2 separate regions of the Homo sapiens genome follow, and region 1 is linked to region 2. The links are contacts of gene promoters, found by promoter capture Hi-C in blood cells and fetal thymus (Javierre and others, 2016). All regions are on one chromosome and are shown on one strand. Each heading gives the region's core, a stretch centred on a gene start or on the middle of the fragment in contact. The rest is flanking DNA. Distances are from core to core; before and after follow the strand shown.

Region 1 (3,822 bases), core at 352-2,851, 750 kb before region 2:
GGAGGAAATGACAAGCAGAATTTGAAATCTAATAACCTTTCAAGTTGTAAAAATGGCTAGTAAGAATTGGAACAATCTTTAATAGGGATATAATGTGTGTGAAGTGCATGGGAAAAGAAATCTCAAATGAAATTTAGAAAATGATTCACTATGCACATGAAACAGGAAATTATCTGACGTTATAAAGTTGAACACGAATCAATAATAAAATTATAACACTGTTCCAAGGGCCATATTCTGTGGCCCCAGAACCTACGGGTGAGAGAGGTTTGAAAGAAGACTCTTCAGCTACACCAGTCCCCAAATTCTTTAGCTTCAGATACAATATAGACACATCACTTGCCTATTTCCACTCTTTGGTAAACATTGTCATGGAAAAATACATACATAAAGCTAAGTTAGAAGTTTGTAATTTAATTTGTTTATGACAACATTGATTGTAAATACCACAGATGCTTGTAAAAAATTCAGTATAGGGCTTAGTTTGAGTTTGGGAGTGGGAAATGATGTTAAAAGAAAAAAAGAAAAAAGTACTATGTCTTTGATTTATCTATCATTTTATGCAAAGTAGAAAGATACAAATAAATGAAAGTATCAAAAATGATTAAAGGCACAGAAAATGGGTGCTCTGAAAGAATATACTCATTGTGATTACGTAACTCAGAAAATAACTGAAGGGTGTTTCAATAACACTGTATGGGAAAGTTTTTCAACAAAACTAATGGTCAATTTTTAAAATTCGATTTAACTGGAAACATCCTCAAATTGCAGACTGACCGATATTGAAGTTAGTTGAAAAGATGCAGCTTTTGTTAATAGAAATGATTGTTACATTTAGGAATTGGCCCAAGACAACACCTGGAAGTCAAACTGCCTCACTTTGAAATATTGGCTATTCTGCCTGGCAGCTATACACTTAACTTCTCTGTGTCTCTGTATTTTTATCAGTAAGAAGGAGATAAAAAACTACTTTTCATTTCAAAGGTTTTTGTGAGGATTAACTGTATTAATAAAATAAAAGGACAGAACAATTCTGGAATATAGTAAATGCTTAATAATGATTAACTCTTATTACTATGACTTGAACCTAATTGGTGCTCATTGAATATCTATTGATGGATTACCACAGCTACTTCTGCCAGCTTTTTATGTGTAAAAAAAAAATCTTTTTTTTTTTTTTTTTGGCATGGTTTAGTTAGATCCTTGCCTGAATTATATACTGCCTTGGTGTATAGTCTTTCTTTTTTAAACAGATGTGTAGTAGATATGCACAAAATACTTCTGGATGTTAAAAGGCAAAATTAAATAACAAAATATTTGACAACTCAGGGTGAAAATAGCCTCTGATTATTAATTGAAGGCACTGAAAGCATTTTGAGGGGCCGGTCTATACTTCTGATTGCCAAGCAAGCAGGGAGGTGACTGTCTCAAAGCTTCGGACGTTTTGAAGCTGGGGCCTGGCTCCGTAGTCTGTGACAATGCACAATGGTTGATGAGTTAGTTCTGGAGGCTTCTGAATTTTAATGATGCTGGAGATGATATTGTGTGTCCTTCAGCTTGTTAGAGTGACACCAGCACTCCATAAATCATAATACCTGTGTATTGTAAAATCAATAGCCAAGTGCTATCTCAGCGCTAACCCTTAATAAGTTTTTCACAGCTCTAACAGCTTAAACTTTGCCGTAATGCCATTGGACCTGTAGGTTAGGATCAGAGCATGCTTAATTTGTTTTGTAATAGAGACTTTTCACTAATGAAGGACCGATTAGTTAAGCTTTGGTTGCCACTCTGGTGATCAGTTGGCAGAACAGCCTCTGCAATTAAACTCATGTATCTCTGTCCTGAAGCAAAAAAGCAGGCTTAAACAGTCAATAAATGTTAATCCAGTCACAACCTGTCTCTGCCTTTGAAGGCTGCCCATGAGGGTTTTTTCCCCTACATCACATTTTTTTCATCTTGTTTTAAATGTGGTGGTCCCCATGGAGTCTGGATGTGGCGTGCATGACCTCCCATGGTCCTGTAATAAGATCTGGCATGCTAACAACATTGGCTACAGATCTGTCATCTATAGGTCTGTCTGTCCCTCCCCCTCCCTCATCTCCTTATCTAAGGTTGAAGAATAAATGAGCAATTGAAGCACATGGGACCTCTAGATGAAATTGGGTAAATATGTATGCAAAGTGGAGGGTGTGCTTTTGTGTTGCTAGGACATATATTATGGTCTCTCCTTCCCACTTTCACTACACACATATGTGGTCAGTATGGTAAAGGAAAGCTGTTTCCTTATTTGCTTTTATTGAGGGAATGTGGCTTGTAATCATCCCTGATGAGTGCTGGGAAGTGAGAGCTCAGTGCAGAGCTGGCAAGCAAAGTAGAACTTCAGAATCACTCCTGGTGGGGCTGGGGGTAGGGTGGTGGAGAAAAAAAAGGAAGAAGAAAAAACTGAGATATAAAACACTTCAAAACTATTTAATACTCCCCTTCCTTGTTATCTGTGTCCTTAAAATTTCAGATACTTTTCTTTTTTCTTTATTTTCTTGCTCTTTCACTTAAGGAAGAGAAGTAAAGACTGACAGCCAGACAGGAAAGTGGCTAGTTCAGACTGTGGCCCACAGACCTGTGGGTGAATGGAAGAGAGTGGTCTGAAAATTGAAATGTCTTCTGTTGGATCCAGGGTCACATGCTTCGGGAGTCTGGTGACATTTGTTTTTTTCCTTCCCATAGGAGCTTGCTTTCCATAGGGCATGCATGAGAGTTAGCTTGTGTCCCTGATGAGAAGATTTAAGCTGTGGGGAAAGGGGGTGCAAAGGAAAGTGAGTGGGTGCAAAGACTGGGAGTGAGTTGTCCAGGAGTCACTGGTCTGCAATGGCAGTGCTGAAAAATGAAGAAAATGCTCATCAAAAGAAGAAGGTTTAGAATTTAACTTGTGGTGAATCTGGGTTTTGTGAACTGTTGTTTAGTTGGCACTTAATTTAGCATACTAGTATTTTATTATAACATTTCATCATTTAATGTCAGGTAGCAAATTATTACTCAACAGAGTATTATTGACTTAATGCAATTAGGCTTTTGAAGCGTTCTGAAGCTGGAGAGCTCTTTTACATGGGTCTTCTTCCTGGAATGCAAATCTGATAGCTATGGAGCAGGCAGGAATTAACCATGTCCCTATGAACTCATTTATGTTAGAAGAACCCCCAGTAATTTCTCTGCAACTCATTGGTTTTTCAGAGAAAAAAGTTTTCAAAGCAATGCTATGGAATATACTTGCAAGTATATTAAACCTGCCTTAGTAAAGGCAGATGTTTTCAATGATCCAATTGCTTATTTAACAAATTGATATTGAGTGCCTACTGTGTGCTCCTCACCAGGGCAGGTGCAGAGGAAACAATGAAAAATGTGACATGCTTGGTCTCTGCCCTTGGTCCTGTGCTCACTCTTGAGAAATTTAATATATGCAAAGAAATACATTTAAAGTAAAAAAAACCACACACACAAATATATTGATCATGAGCACTGAAGGCAAAAAATAATTAGCATTACTCAAGTAATTTATGATCCTAATGGGCACTGAGCCATGTGCTGCAGGCCTTAAGTCATTCAGTAACAGAGTCTTTCTGAGCTCTGGTTCTATAAAAAGCACCATGTCACATACTGTTGGCAATTGTCAAGAAAATTAAAGACATTAAGCCCTTGAACCTTATACTTGTATTTTTTTTCCTCAAGAATGCAAGATGGAATATATATCTCAGAAAAACTGTAATCAGTTTGAGACATATGATATGTATACTTAGGCTTCATTTCCTCATTTTGCATTATAGATGT
Region 2 (3,831 bases), core at 1,207-3,706:
AACCTGGTAAGTAAGCCTATACCCCAAGCCACTTTCTCCTCAAAGCTTCCCATTTGTGTGTTTTCTCCTCTTTGGTTTTGGTTGTGTTGTTTTTAATGCTTTCAGTGGCATCTTGGTGATTTCTGGCTGGCGAGCAATCATCAGGGGCTAGGTTGAAGCTAGTCTTGCCCACCTGGAAGTTGCCGGCCTCCATTACAGGAGCAAGGACAAACAGCAGTGTAGCACTGCAGCGGATCCAATTCTGCCCCCTTTCCCTCAGCCCTACCCCCATCCCAAGCGCAAGACAGCCAGACCCCAGAGAAGCCGAGGATGGGTGAGTTTTCCCATCCCACTTCGCCTTGATCTCCTTGTGGACGGGTTTTATGCTCAGTCATTACCTTTTAGTGGCCCACATGAAATTTTGTTAAAGGAAGAAATGAAAAGATTTTCCCCAGTCAGTCTTTCCTCTATTTAATTACAAAATGCTGGTGGGAACTGCTGCATCTGGGATGCAAGAAAATGCAGAAAGGGTGACTGAAAATTTTGCAAATGAACATGACTTCCCATGAAGTCTAATGTTCCATTCGCTGCCATGGTCCAGGGGACTCCCACCAGCTTCCACCGGCTTCAACAGGATCTCCACTAGAGAGCCCAGACTTATCTAGTCCTGTCGGGGAAAAGGGAGAAGAGGCCTTGCAGGAGAAAGCTAACAGAAAATTCGTTACCTGAGGTCCTGCCTGCAGTTTCAAATAGCTTCCAGCAGTTTTACAAAACACATCCTTTCCATTTCTTCCTTTTAAATGTTTCCCTAAGAACGATCCATTTAGGTGCTATAAGTCCTCAGCCAGGGAGTCTCTGGGACACTGGCATTCAAAATTTTAAACTTCCGCCCCAAAACCAGGAACATTCCAAGACAGAACTCTTTTAGGGGGCCATTTCCTGGGGGTGGGGGAGAGGGCTTGGAATCAATGCTAGATTGAAAACGTTGTAATAGCTTTGCCCCAGACTTAACACCGGTTGGGCAGGAGGAGGGTAATTTTTATTTAGCCGTTTCTCCGATCATGTGGGGAATACCATTAGCTGTTGATAGCGGGCCATGTATCCGAGGAAAGCCTGAGCTACAAGGCAAAGGCATCCCATCTGGAACAAAATCAGAAAGCTATTGGCAAAGGTAATCAATCAGGCCATAAATAGCCATTTACCCGCTTCCTTTTCGGGGCTGGAGGTGGGCCGGGAGCCCTCCAAGGGTGAGCTGGGCAACTTGTAGAGCAAGGAATATGCCCTCCGCTGCCGGCGCCCCGGCCGCTTTTGTCTGGGCTCCCAGCCGGGCTTCCGAGGCTTTGTACCATGGATTTGGGAGTGACAATGGGCATTTCCCTCAGATTCAAGGCTGCTCAACCTCACCTCTGTAGGGGGAAAAAAATCAGAAGGGAGTGTCCCAAGGACCTAGCCATTCGGCCGAATTTTTTAGACATTTTGGGAGTCTCCTCCGAGGCCTTTAAGTGCGAACCGCGCGAAGCGGCCCTGCCCGGGGAGACTCGCTGAGGCAGGGCTGAGGCGGCGGGCGGGAGCAAGCTGCTCTAGCATTTGGGTTCTGCCCTGTGGCGTGTTCTCTTCCAGGGCCTTTCCAGCATCATCGGAGAAGACGAAGCACCCTGGCCGCCACTGTCCGTGCTGCGCCAACTCGCCCGGCCGCCCGCCCTTCCGAGGGCAGGCAGAAGCCCCTCTGTGTCCTCCACCGCCGCGCCCCGGCTCGCCCCTCGGGCCGCGGCGTGTGCCCAGCCTCACGTCGGGGTGTGTGTGGCCGCGCGGGCGTGTGTGAGTGTGGCAGGGGGAGGGGGCCCTCCGATCTGCTCCATCCGTCCGTTTTATTAGGGACACATTAATCTATAATCAAATACACCTCATAAAATTTTTATTGAAAGGCATAATATCATTACAGAGGTCTTCCACCTGTTTTAAACAACACGACAAGCTGTGAGCAAGCGTGTGTGTGGGGATGTGTGGGGAGGGGTGGGTGTGAGTAGGGAGAGAGGCGAGGGGAGAACAGCTCCCCTCGGGCGCTAGGGGCCGCCCCGAGGGCCCGCCTGCCTCGGGCGACACCGGCCTGGCGCCCCCGCGGCCGCTCCGTGTGCCCTGGACTCGCCGCCCGCGGCTCGGAAGCTGGAGAGTCAGCGACGGGGCCCGACTGCGGGACCGAGGGCTGCAAGAAGAAGCGAACAAATAGTCCCCAGCGCCTCCTCTGGATGCGGTCGCGTCTGTGGTCCTGGCAGCCGCTGGGCGGGCCAGGCCAGGTCGGGCCGGGCCGAGCCGGGCACATGGACCTGGGCCTGCGGGCTCTAATTGCGGCGCTTATGTTGATGATTTTTTTTTTAATCACAGCAGCCCCCAGTTTAGCGGACTGATTTACTCCCGGTATTGGTAAATATGATCACGTGGGCCGCGCGACCAATGGTGGAGGCTGCAGCCTGCGAACTAGTCGGTGGCTCGGGCGCCGGCGGGGAGCTGCTCGGCGGCGGACAGTGTAATGTTGGGTGGGAGTGCGGGACGCCTCAAAATGTCTTCCAGTGGCACCCTCAGCAACTACTACGTGGACTCGCTTATAGGCCATGAGGGCGACGAGGTGTTCGCGGCGCGCTTCGGGCCGCCGGGGCCAGGCGCGCAGGGCCGGCCTGCAGGTGTGGCTGATGGCCCGGCCGCCACCGCCGCCGAGTTCGCCTCGTGTAGTTTTGCCCCCAGATCGGCCGTGTTCTCTGCCTCGTGGTCCGCGGTGCCCTCCCAGCCCCCGGCAGCGGCGGCGATGAGCGGCCTCTACCACCCGTACGTTCCCCCGCCGCCCCTGGCCGCCTCTGCCTCCGAGCCCGGCCGCTACGTGCGCTCCTGGATGGAGCCGCTGCCCGGCTTCCCGGGCGGTGCGGGCGGTGGCGGTGGTGGTGGAGGCGGCGGTCCGGGCCGCGGTCCCAGCCCTGGCCCCAGCGGCCCAGCCAACGGGCGCCACTACGGGATTAAGCCTGAAACCCGAGCGGCCCCGGCCCCCGCCACGGCCGCCTCCACCACCTCCTCCTCCTCCACTTCCTTATCCTCCTCCTCCAAACGGACTGAGTGCTCCGTGGCCCGGGAGTCCCAGGGGAGCAGCGGCCCCGAGTTCTCGTGCAACTCGTTCCTGCAGGAGAAGGCGGCAGCGGCGACGGGGGGAACCGGGCCTGGGGCAGGGATCGGGGCCGCGACTGGGACGGGCGGCTCGTCGGAGCCCTCAGCTTGCAGCGACCACCCGATCCCAGGCTGTTCGCTGAAGGAGGAGGAGAAGCAGCATTCGCAGCCGCAGCAGCAGCAACTTGACCCAAGTAAGTGCAAAAGAAATTGCCCCCTGATTTATTGCTGAAACCTGTAAGGCTCGAATGTGCAAAACTGATAGTTTTACTAACCTATAAAAACGTCTAGACGCCTACCCAAGCCTAGGCGAACAACATGCATCCATAAAAAGAGCTTCCCATAACCACCTACCCTGGGCGCTCAGTTAGTACGGTAAACAGAGCGCGAGCATTAAGGCTTTTTATGATAATTCCCCACAAGTTGTGAAAAGCGACCATCCTTGGTGAAATTAATTTAACGACCTCTCTTCCCCACCCTGTGGTCTCTCCCTGCCTCCCCTCCTCTCCTCTCTCCCCGTCTCCAAACCTCCCTCTTTGTAGACAACCCCGCCGCGAACTGGATCCACGCTCGCTCCACCCGGAAAAAGCGCTGTCCCTACACCAAATACCAGACGCTTGAGCTGGAGAAAGAATTCCTCTTCAACATGTACCTCACCCGGGACCGGCGCTACGAGGTGGCCAGGATTCTCAACCTAACAGA

What was found. Contacts are between HindIII fragments. The CHiCAGO score rates a contact against its expected background, and 5 or more counts as called.
Region 1: a fragment that was not itself captured here is called in contact with the fragment with the promoter of HOXD9 in region 2 in 4 of 17 cell types (monocytes, M0 macrophages, M2 macrophages and 1 more); the score reaches 6.8 in monocytes.

Annotation. Positions count from the first base shown.
Region 1 is chr2:175,369,302-175,373,123 of GRCh38, forward strand. No RefSeq gene overlaps it. Among named protein-coding and RNA genes, the nearest start is that of ATP5MC3, 190 kb to the left of the region's middle. The HindIII fragment of the contact is 341 bases long and covers 1,432-1,772 here.
Region 2 is chr2:176,120,263-176,124,093 of GRCh38, forward strand. It overlaps HOXD9 (homeobox D9), which reads left to right and starts at 2,457. Exons shown (of 2, transcript NM_014213.4): 1 at 2,457-3,323; 2 at 3,672-3,831. The coding sequence starts at 2,507. The HindIII fragment of the contact is 6,351 bases long and covers 44-3,831 here.